Linked DNA regions of Homo sapiens: region 1 is linked to region 2. Evidence: promoter capture Hi-C in 16 types of primary human blood cells and fetal thymus (Javierre and others, 2016). All regions are on one chromosome and are shown on one strand. Each heading gives the region's core, a stretch centred on a gene start or on the middle of the fragment in contact. The rest is flanking DNA. Distances are from core to core; before and after follow the strand shown.

Region 1 (5,752 bases), core at 1,763-4,262, 190 kb after region 2:
GGAAGGTATCTAGTCTAGTCCTTGGCACATAGTACATGTTCAATAAAAATTGGTACTGGGTGAGGAGGACTGATATATGTACACATATATATTGACCTATATTCATTTAGGGAAGTGGTTGGGAGCACTTGGTTATGCAGAAGTAGGATATTTCCAGCTCTTTCCATCACTATCTGTGTGGCCTTACTAAACCAACTCAATCACACTAATATCCATTTCCCCATCAGGAGATAATACCAGTAGATGCTACCTCACAGAGGTGAAGTGAGGATAAATGAAATAAGGCACACAAAAAACTTAGCACGGTGACTGGCATAGGGTAAAAGGTTATGATTCTTCCCTTTGGTTTCATTTAAACCCAGTTTTATTTAAAGACTTAGTGTATAGTATCATATAAGAGCAAATATTTATTCAAACATTCCCCCAAAAAGCAAGTTCAGCTATTTTTGGAGAGACACAGAAGCCTTTGGTAATCAACATTGATTGAGGGTTTTGAAAGGAAAAAACATTAACAGCACTATTAGAAAATCAGTTATGGGCTGAAATTTGCAAGGTTTATGGAGCTTCAAGTTCAATACTCCTCTGTCCCCAATACTTTATAATATGTGCCAGAGAAAACTGGAAATTCTACCCTTGACAGCCCAGACGATAAAGAAATCACAGAGGAGAAACAGATTGGCCATGCTTAGGGCAACAGAAGGGGAAAGCAGGCCTGACCCCCTCCTTCCCTCTCCTTGCTCCATCTCTCACCCCCATGCCATCACCTCTTCTCATTTCCTTCTCACTTCCTCTGGCCTGACTCCTCCTTACCACACCTTCTCCTGGAGCAGCTGTTGAATGGTGAAAGAGCACAGTGAGCTGCCTTTGCTGCCAGTGGCTGTGACAAGGCCCAGGTGGCCTCAGTGAATGATCAGGGTGGTCATGGCCTGACATGGATGGAGAGTGATTTTCCTCAGTCCACTATAGATGCGTAAGGGCCATTTTGGACCACTGCATGACACCTGATTAATGACTCCATATCAGTCCAGGGTAGCATTTTTCCAGTGGTCACATGCATGGCTGGGAAGTAGTATTTATGTGCCATCTTCCTGGGATTCTCGTGGACTCCATAGGCAATTTGAAGATAAGATTTTTTTTTTAAAGAGTCTTGCTCTGTCACCCAGGCTGGAGTGCAGTGGTACGATCTCGGCTCACTGCAGCCACCATCTCCCGGGTTCAAGTGATTCTCCTGCCTCAGCATCCCGAGTAGCTGGGATTACAGGCACCTGCCACCACGCCCAGCTAATTTTTGTGTTTTCAGTAGAGACGGGGTTTCACCATGTTAGCCAGGCTGGTCTTGAACTCCTGACCTCATATGATCCGCCTGCCTCGGCTTCCCAAAGTGCTAAGATTACAAGCGTGAGTCACCGTGCCTGGCCAAGATTTTAATATTGCTTTTTTTTTTGTTTGTTTGTTTTGCCACTTCTTGATGGTTTCTTTTACACCCAAAAAGAACTTTTCACTGATAAGGATTATGTGATGGCATAATTCTAAAATACAGAAAGAAAAAGAAAGAATCCAGAGACCTTGGTGCTGGGAAGAGGGGCCAGGCAGAGCCTTGGAAGTGGTGAGAAATACCAGGATCTCTCATGACCCACAAACAAGCCTGGAGACTGCTCCATGGTGTGTCTCCATATTTGTACATCCTGGGGAGCCCAAAGGACAGTTGGGGTCTTTTTATCAAAAACAGTAGGAAATAAATCCCAAAGAGATTTTACTATATAATCATATGTTTGCTGACATATTTCAAGCTCCCTTTACATGCCCAACACTGGGCTAGGAGCAACAGAGAGAAATAAGGCATAGTTCTTGCCTTCAAGGGACTTGCAGTCTGGTGGAGCGGAGGTCAAGGAGACCAGCCTTCACACACAGGATGCTGTGGACACCAGAGGGGAGTGCAGGGAGGGGAGCCTAACTTAGCTGAGGCTGTCTTGCAGAAAGCTTTGCGAGCCACCTGATCCTTAACAAACCTAGAAAGGAGGTTCTAGGCATCAGGAACTGCACCAAAGCATACAAGCACATGGAACAAATAGATACTGCAAGAAGCAAAGCTTACTCATGGGGAAATCATGAGAGATGATTCAAAGGTGGACAAGAGCCAGACTGTGAGTGGCCATGCTAAAGAATGAGAATTATAGGCCGGTCACAGTGGCTCACACCTGTAATCCCAGCACTTTGGGAGGCCAAGGTGGGCAGATCACCTGAGGTCAGCCTGGCCAACATGGTGAAACCCAATCTCTACTAAAAAAACAAAAAAATAGCCTGGCATGGTGGTGGGTGCCTGTAATCCCAGCTACTTGGGAGGCTGAGACAGGAGAACCACCTGAAATCAGGAGGTGGAGGTTGCAGTGAGCTGAGATCATGCCACTGCACTCCAGCCTGGGCAACAAGAGTGAAACTTCCTCTCAAAAAAAGAATGAGAATTGTAGACTCCAGGAGAAAGGAAACCACTAAGGTATGAGCTTGAGAGTGATACAATCAGAGTTGAATCTTAGAAAAATCATCTGGCAAGAGTGCAGGAGCTTATTGCCAAGGGTTGATCTGACAGTAGAAAGACCATAACCTGGGCTCACTTTGCAACTCCTTTCCCAAAGTGAATTTTCACCTGACATTAAAGAAACATCCCAGCAGCCCACATTTATAGGGGCCAATGGCTCTAACACTGACTCCTCCTACCTGCGTAGATGAAGCAGGGCCATGAATTATTTGCAGCTCTTTTCTTAAAGAGATGGAATCCATTTTCCTACTCCTTGAATCAGGGCTGCGCTTGTGACTTACTTTGACCAACAGAAGTGTTGTTGTGAGGCTTCCAAGCCCAGGCCTTAAGAGATCTTGCAGCTTCCACTCTCACTCTTCTGAAACACCGCTATCACCATATAGGAAAGCCCAAGCTAGCTTCCTTGAGGATAAGGCCAAGTAGAGAGGCCCAGACAGCAAGCTGTTCCAGCAATTCACTCACATATGAATGAGATGGTCCCCACCAGCCAGCCTCCAAGCAACCCACCAATCAATTGCCACATAGGTGACTCCAGGAGGCAAGATAAGCAGAAGAACCATGGAGATGAACCCAGCACAAATTACAAAATCAAGAAATTAATGGTTGTTGTTTCACACCGCTATCTCTTGAGTGGTTAGTTACCCAACAATAAATAACTGGTCCTCCTTTATACTGCAATTTGTGAAAGCTGGCACTGGAACAACAAGCTGTCCAGATATTTGCAAGAATTAATACTGTCTGGAGGGTAAATAGACGCCATATCCCTAGAGCAGAAGGGGTTTCTGCAGGGATTGTCTGAGTCTCCTTCCCTCCAGAGTGCCAATTAGGATGGCTGACTTGCTCTAACTTATATCTAACTATAAATGCACTGTCTGATTGATAGGACATCAATGTTAATTAATAATTCATAGTATGGTCAGACTTTTTCACATGTAATCACAACTTTACATCTCAAGAAATGCCCCTGTAGCTAGTTGGAAAGCAGCTTTTCCTTCAGATTCTGACTTTCAAAAAAAGTTATCACAGTCTCTCAGAGTAGAATTTGGAGAAAGTGTGTGAAAAAGTCAAAGTTGACAAGAAATGCCATTTTTCTCCTTGGTGCATGATGCCTTTCCTGCAGAATGTAGCTTTCATGTGAACAAACCCCACTGCAGGGACAGACAAGGAGAAGACAAAATGATTCGGTATTTACAGCCTCTCCCATTAACCACTCAGATTCCAGATGGTGGAAAGTCGGGGAGGAGCCCTGAAACAGGCGCTTGAAACCAAAGCTGATGCTATTGAAATTCATGGCATCCAAATTCCTGAATCTGCATCAAAAGGGAGAGAGCCTTGTTGCCACACACTTGAACTCATTTTGAACCTGCAGGAATTCTCTGTAGCATACTACCAAGCTTTATCTTTGTTCCATACATCTAAAGTTAAGTTTCTATCTTTTTTGTCACCACATCATACCAAAACAGCTAGACAGATTTTTATCAATTTTGAGGATGTGTTTAGGATGTCCCAACTTGAAGAAACAGGCCATGGGGCTTGCAAACATGCAAGTCACTACAGGAGGCCCTGGGGAGCAGGTAAAAATGAGACAGGAGAGGTGCTGATAACTACTAATCTGAGATATGGCAAGGAAGAAAACAAAATGGAGTTTCAGATGCGAGCCCAAACTGAAACTCATGAAGGCCTCTCAACTGCAAGCATCAGTTCAAGATAGAACTGCTTCTCGAGAAGCTGCATTTATGGTGTCCTCCCTATGACCAGCAGCAGGGATTTATTCATTTAATGAGGGTTAAAGAGTCTTCCCAGTAACACAGGGGAGACCAGTGAGTGTAAGAAATACATATGGGCAGTGTACCTTGAGAGACACACTTTTTGGAAACAAAGACATATTCAAAGCTGAGTTCAAATATGTTCCCCTCATGGCTCGTGGCGAGCATTTAATAAACAATAGTTGAATGAATGAAGAAATGATTGGATGGGTGACTGAGTGAATGAATGAAGGAATGATTGGATGGGTGACTGAGTGAATGAATGAAGGGATGAATGTTGTCTGGGGAGCTGTGAAAGGTAGAGAAGCAAAAGGGAACTTCTGGCAATACCCTTCACAGAAAGCCAAGCCTTGTTAGCGGGGCTTTACATTGAATGGCATTTTTAGTTTCATTATCTAATAGTGTTGAACATTCTCAAACTATATTTAAAAGATCTAAAATATAAAACAGTGGCTTTAAAAGGCAAACATTATACTCCTTCTGTAGTACTTTTTATAAGATCTGTTTACCTCGTGCTTAATATTGGCAATGCCACTGTTCCTGCAATGAATTGACAAAACAGTTCAATACACCTCATTTAGAACCATTATGGGGCATTTCATCAAAGATCTGGTTATGAACGTCCCCAAAGAAAGGATCAATTAGATTTTTATTATGCTTGGGAAAGATTTATTTAAGAAAAAAAAATCCCTATAAAATGGAGGGGACAGATAAAGTGTGACCAGGGCAAAGGACACATTCCATTTTATGCCACTGAAGATAAATATAATTTTTATTTTAACAATAGTCTATTCCCACATATATTATCCATGTAATTGTTTATGTTTCAAAACCCACTTCATAGCAGTTTTACAAGTGGCAGAGATAGACTATTCTCAAGAGGTTGTGCTCAAGAACTGCCTTAAAGAGAAAACGGCACTATAATTAGCGCATTTGGTACATTAGCGATAAAGCACTCCTTGGAGGGCAAGACAGGCCCATAGCCCACCAAACTCCTCCCTCTTGGAAGAGTGCTAGAGTGAGGCTCTCTGGTGGCTCACACATTGCTACAATTGGGTCAAGGTTCTCCTGCATCGTGGTCTTAGGTAAAGATACCATGAAACATTTAATCATGTATTTATTTTCTCTACACAAAATGTATTAATTTAGCCTTAATTTGATTTTGTTTAGTCTCATATAGTTTTATAACTTGATAAGAAAAACATTTCTACTTGGCTTTAATATTTTTCATTATACCTGCCAAGTCAATAATTTGAAGAAAGCTGGATAAAATTTTCAAAAATTTTTGGATTTATATTGTTTCCCCAGTTTTGTTCAGCCTTATCAATAAGCTCTTATTCTTATTGTCCTCTATACAAATCTTAGAGGCATGTAATCTCAAGGCAGGCACTTGAGAAGAGCAAACATTGTTTCCCTATAGGTATCAGTCAAGATTCTTTGGGTACAAGCC
Region 2 (6,212 bases), core at 1,291-3,790:
AATACCAGAAAAGGAGATAAATGGCTGCCCAAATGATCTCAGGACATAATTATTTTTAAGGTAGGACTGCAGTCCTTCGTAAGCTCTTTTCAGAATCTAGGCCATCACAGACACACAGAAGACTATTAGACCAGGTGCTAAATTTTGTCCATGGTTAGCAAACGACATACAAAAAACTAAACTGCTTCCTTGAAGTTGAAATCAAAGAGCATCATGAGCAGCCTTATGTATTTCTGAATGGGAGAGAACACACGTGTGATGGAGGCAATCCAGAGAGAGGCGCGCTTCCCAGAGGCTGTTTTAAACAGTGACAGATTACAAAATCCTAATGTGATATGTTGGAACATGAAACACACACACACACTTGCTTGTGAAAAACCCTGCTGAAATCCTTAAAAGCCAAAGTTTAGAAGAACACGTGCTATGGATACACCAACAGTAATTTCAAAATCACTCTGTTTATGAGTCCATTCCTCACCTCTTTTATCACTTTGACACACTCTTTAGGAAATAACAGAGAAAGAGAAATATGAAGCTGAAGACAGAAAATTTAATTATAAAACAAAGCCACCCACCTTGCTTTCAGGGTCAGGAGGTACAATGGCCTTCTTTTGCAGCAAGAATGAACTTAACACCCGTGTGTTAAATGATCACGTATCTATTTAAAAGAAAAGGAAATGTTTTTTAAAAGAAATGAAAGCTATATTCTCAGTCCTTCCTATAGCCAAGTCTTACCAAAAAATAAAAATAAAAGCAGTGTACTGTGGCTCTCTGGCACAAGGCAGAAAGCCGAGTCCTTAAGTCACTATTCCCCGGTTTCGCAAAACAAAATAAAACCAAAAAGCAACAGCAAAAGGTGTTTGGCAGGTGGGAAAGGGCCTTAAAACACCTTGTGCCCTCCTGGGTCCCTCCCAATGCCTTCAGTGTGGGCTGTGGAAACAACACCGCTCAACACCAAAGTCACCATCGGCAGTTTAAATGCCACAAAAGTACACTTAGAAATGAGAAGAAAGTGGGGCCGGGCGCGGTGACTGACATGGATATGTACAGCCAACCCCACTGCCACTAGAACAGTCTTAAATGCCCACACAAGGAGTATAAAAAGAAAAGCACATTTTGCAATAGAATAAATTCTTTTTTTTTTTTTTTTTTTTTTTTTTTATTGAGACCGCGGAAAGTCACATGACCCTGCATGTAGCCTTTTAGGAAAGCAACCGAAATGGTAAAGCCAGGAGCCGGGGCTGCCTGCTTCCTCCTGCAGCCTTTCAGCCCGTCCTGTCGCGCGTCCACATTCTTCTGGGCGCATCTGTGGAGCTATTAAGTGGGATAATCCCTCTGGCCTTTGATACATTTCTGGACATGATTATTTCATTACTCGCAGTATATCAGTAGGATCATAATAAAAAGGACTTCTGACAACCTGCCAAGAGTTTTGTGGCCTTGTAAACACAAAAGTGCTCTAATAAAATTTTATTAAGTGTTAAAAAGTCATAAAAAGTGAAATAACATAAACTACAAAATTTACTGTCCTCAGCAAATCCTGAAAATATCTTCCACAGTAAAATTAAATTAGCATGTAATAGACAGAGAAGCAGTGTGGAGTGGATTTAAAAGAGGATCCAGGGAAAATGACACTGTAACCCAATCAGGGTCACGGGGATTTAATTCGGATTTTCCCCCTTAAATGTGGATAAATGTGCTGATTACAGACGAGAGCTCCGGGGTTACTGGAGTCTCACACATTGTCAATACTTCGGAAGAAATAATATATTGCAGATTGTAACGAGCACGGGGAGCCAGCGAAAGGCAGGGCGTCCACTAGGGCGCGCTGAGAGACCGGGAATCCCCGCAAGGGCGCCCGCGCCGCCCGCCACCCGCCGCCGCGCGCACGCCGCGCCCTCGCCCACCTCCAAATAATATTTACAGTTAGGGTTTTTTTTTTTTTTTTTTTTTTTTTTTTTGCTCTCGCCCGTGACATTTTCTCCAAATCGGAAGAAAATCAAGTGTATGTCGAGCTTTGCCGCAGGCAGCCCTTGGTCTCCGCTTTCAGATTCGGGGTCCGGGAGCGGAGCGCCCTGCCCGCGGCGGTGCTAAACTCTGGGGCCAGGGTGTGGCCCTCAGCGAGCGCCCTGGGACTGGCCGCCCCGCCGAAGGATGCCGAGGATCGGGCAAGGCCGGCGTCCGGTCTGCGCGGGGCGCGGGTGCTCTCCGAAGGCCGCGAGCCACGGGCCTCGCTGCGGGTTCAAGTGCGTCCGGGTTTGGACGTCGCGGCTCCAGGAGTGTGCTCTCTCTCCTGCCCATCCCCTCCCCGGAGTTCAGCGCATCCGGGGCCCCGGGGACCCCTCTTCCCGGCCCTCCTGGCCGCGCTGGCCCGCCCGCATGGGGCCGAGGTTCCTGGCCGACGCGCGAGGGCGCGGGCGGGTACCGGGTTCCCGTTTTTCCCAGGCCCCGATCCCCGCCCACGCACGAGGCCCCCGGCCCACGCACGAGGCGCCCACGCCCATCGTGGAGGCTCCGCCTGGAAAAGAAGTCCGACTTCCTCTCCAAGCTGCTCCGAGGGGAATGGGGAATCGGCAGGAAATGACCCGAACTGCCAGCCTGCGCCTTTGCAGCCGGCCCTCGCTTTGCTGAAGACGAGCAGCTCCCACCAAAGTCTTGCCTCCCCTTACCCCGAAAGCCCCGCTCAGGTTTGTAAAGAGGGGTGCGAGATCTGAAAAGTATTTGTCTTCTAGGGAGAGAGATGTTGGTAAGGGGCCCAGAGAAAGACGGGTCCTTTTTAGCTCATCAACGCGCCACGTCTTGCTTTGCAGCTCCAAAATGATGCCAGCGCTGCTGTCCGAAGGGTCAATATTAATGCGTTAAGTGAAATGGGAAATAAATGGACAGTGGCACATTTCGTGGCATCATTTTTACAAGGGGATGTCGAAAGTTTTAAGCTGCATTTAAGAATTAGCCACATCTTGCCTGAAAGTTAATATTTTTTGATAAACTCGTTAATAAAGCCTAGAAGAGGTAAGTTAAAGTTAGTTACCACGTAGATCCTCCAGTCTCTTGTAGAGACTTGCGCAGGTTACTAGGATGAGGACGAGTTGTATTTTTAATTTTCTAGACTAAGTGCAAAGGCATTGAGTTTTGAGGTGGCAGGGTTAATGTTCAAGGGCAAATGGAACCGCCAAGGATCTCTTGAAAAGAATTCACTTACTATTAATACTTAAGCCTGAAATAATTATAATTAATTTACAGTGGGAATTATATGCCCATGTTTTAGACTTTTTTGTTATATTAGCTATATGAAAAGGGATGTTCTTTAGTGATTAAAAGAAAAAACCACCTGTTTATTGTCATTTGCAATTTGAAATAGCCGACAGCAGTAAGGCTAGCTACAAAAGCTAACAAGTCAACTTCAGTGTGGTTTGACATTTACTGTCAAAGCTTTGAGCTCTAAGAAAAACAGAATTTAAAATAATGTATATAAATAATAAAATTTCATTGTGACTCAATGTCCCTGCCCCTGGAGAAGGGACAGATGACACTCAGTGACTGGCTTGGAACCATTCCCCCTGCAGATGCATTTGCGGATACAGTGGGCCAGGGCTGCCTCTGAGTATGTACAGCAAGTGCTTATGGACTTACAGAAACAAATGTTTTACTATTTAGGATTTTCTCAATAGTTTACACTAAAAGTTTTGCATGTAGAAATGTGGGATAAATATTTCTTTGAAAGGAAAAGTTTCGAAAGGAAACTTTATACTTGTATTTTTTTGTGTGTTCACATTTCTAAGTTCATCTGTCTTTCAAAAAACAGATTTTCATAAATATTAAAATATTGCAAGTATTATTTTTAATTCTTTTGAGTGCCATGTTTGCTGTAAGTAGTTTTTTCTTTTAAGTAAGATTAATATAATCCTGTCTAAGGAGTTTAATAGAGAGAACAGGATTTCCAAGCCTATAAATGCAGTCTATATAAAATAGTGGGATCAAAGTTTTTTGTTAAGAAACTTGAGAATTTATACATTTTAAATGAAGATAGAAGCACGTTTTAAAAGTAGTTTTTCCACACCATTTCCCTCCCCCCAAAAGAATTCAGAAACTATATTCCATAGTCTAAAAATGGCATAATCAGATGTAAAAATTATTACCATAATATATAGTTTTCTCAAGATGGTGGATACTTTTTAATATATTATGAAGAGTTATATTCTCAGCCCACTGTGTGTTTGAGGGAATGGAAAAGACAAGATGTTTCTAAACATATTTTACTACTGAAATCCATAAGACTATTAAGCTGTGCAGGTAATTGTGTTCTAAGTGGTAGAAGTATTTTTCCAACTGCTTTTTAAACTTTGAAAAATTTATATGTATTTTAATTAGCACTTTTCTTTTAAAGGTTCCAAATATTTAGCTATATCAGCTATGTGATAAAAATTATTGGAATTTGTTCCCTACTACTTTCTGCATAAACAATTGAGAAATATTTTATACTAATCTTTTTATATACAGGGGATAAATTTGAACATGTGTCTTGTTGGTGTAATAAACAATCCAAATTCATTTCTTTCTTGAAAACTTGGCATCGATCTTCATCTTATTTTTTATGCACACAATTTGGACATGCCAGTTTGTAGGCAAGTTTTAAGACAGTGCAAGTTTTATGTGGAAGAATGTATATTAAGGAATGAATAGCTAATAGCCAAAATTAAATCAGGAGGTGTGGCATTCACTCCTTTGGATGATTATTTTAAAGATAGTTTTGCACTCAGGAAGGATTTTCTTATGCTCTGTATTTATGAATATCTAAATTATCCTGCCTTGCAACTTCAAAACTCAATAACCAAATACCAAATTTATGTATTTTCAGTGTGACTAAGGCTAGGAATATGAGAAGCAGATTGGTTTTATAAAAGAAAGCAAGCATTTACAATTGTATTTTAAAATATAATCCTAATTTCAGTTTCTGACAGAAATCTTGTGGTCAGCTCATCAGTTTTTCAGATCAGTTTCTAAATAGCATATAAAAACTACCTTTTCCACATCAGAAGTTCATATTTAGGTTTCCTTAACTGCAAAATCACTTTAAAAGAGAGTGTTTTATGTGAAGGGCCATTTCATGTGTTGGTTCCATCGATTACATATGAATGTATAAAAATCTTGTTTAAAGACCAGTAAAAGTGAGGAAATTCCAAGTCAGGCTGGCTAATTCCATTCATAATTCATCCCGAGTACCTGACTGAGGAAACTTGCAAACAGTTTATAGCTATACATACAAAATAAGTTGACGTGCTTTGTAAGCTGGAAGCAGAGTTAAGTTTGACCTCCCTGCTTGGAAGGTCTTAAATTAATAAAATTATGGAATATGGTTAAGCTTTTCAGTTTCCCAAGAATTTTCCAATATCGATGCTTTTTGGATTTTTGCATTTTGAAAATGTAAGCATGGAAGGACAACTTCTTTTGTGCTGAGATGAAGTTAGCTTTTACCCATCCATTTCCTTCCCACTTAACACATTTGTTCAGTAATTCTTCGAGTGCTGGGGGACAGAGGCCCTGCCTTGAGAAAAGCATATGCCATTTCTCTGCCCCCTTCAACCATCCCCACCCCCAGCCCTCCCTTTATTTCAAGCCAGTTGGACAAGTATTTAGCATTGACACATGTTTCAAACTGCTGCATCCACAGCCCTAGGTAGTTTTGGGGATTGGCAGGAAATCCATCTAGACTTTGCCTTCTGAGCTGGGTAAAACTACTAGGAAGTCCTATGCCTTGATATTGTGGCACTTCTAGGCTGTCTTTCCAATTTTAAGCAATCCATCAGTTGTTTTCTAAGACTGCACTGTAGACTGATGCCTTCTCTTAGTTTTGATGTTCAGAAGATTTTTTAAACATGTTCATAGATTTCTTAAACATTCTGAGTAATTGTAATTTTAAACTAGACTAATTTTAGGGTTGAAAACTGTCCCAGAGAGAGTCCTTACATAATAACTTCAATCTGATGTGAACTCGAATGACTTTTTAAAAATAAGATGTTGAAAATGTGGGTTTCTGGTGGAAAAGGCTGCCATTCACTTAGAGTGGGATCCTTAGGACCAGTTAATATCCACCAGACATGCTTCAATAAACTGGAACAAGCCTGATGTGGAATTACTGACTCCCCATTTTCCTGAATGTAGGTCATTTTGTGTCCTTACAATTTAACGTTTGAAGGGATTTCCTGTCTTTG

What was found. Contacts are between HindIII fragments. The CHiCAGO score rates a contact against its expected background, and 5 or more counts as called.
Region 1: a contact is called between a fragment that was not itself captured here and the fragment with the promoter of LINC01116 in region 2, in 1 of 17 cell types (endothelial precursors). The highest score is 6.3, in endothelial precursors.

Annotation. Positions count from the first base shown.
Region 1 is chr2:176,448,140-176,453,891 of GRCh38, reverse strand. No RefSeq gene overlaps it. Among named protein-coding and RNA genes, the nearest start is that of NRAL, 57 kb to the left of the region's middle. RefSeq lists a silencer at 3,677-3,971 and an enhancer at 3,537-4,144. The HindIII fragment of the contact is 1,840 bases long and covers 2,093-3,932 here.
Region 2 is chr2:176,633,937-176,640,148 of GRCh38, reverse strand. LINC01116 (long intergenic non-protein coding RNA 1116) reads left to right here and starts at 2,540. Exons shown (of 5, transcript NR_188023.1): 1 at 2,540-2,687. LINC01117 (long intergenic non-protein coding RNA 1117) reads right to left here and starts at 2,395. Exons shown (of 4, transcript NR_110599.1): 1 at 2,141-2,395; 2 at 576-658. RefSeq lists an enhancer at 1,206-1,720 and a silencer at 1,881-1,930. The HindIII fragment of the contact is 4,643 bases long and covers 1-3,434 here.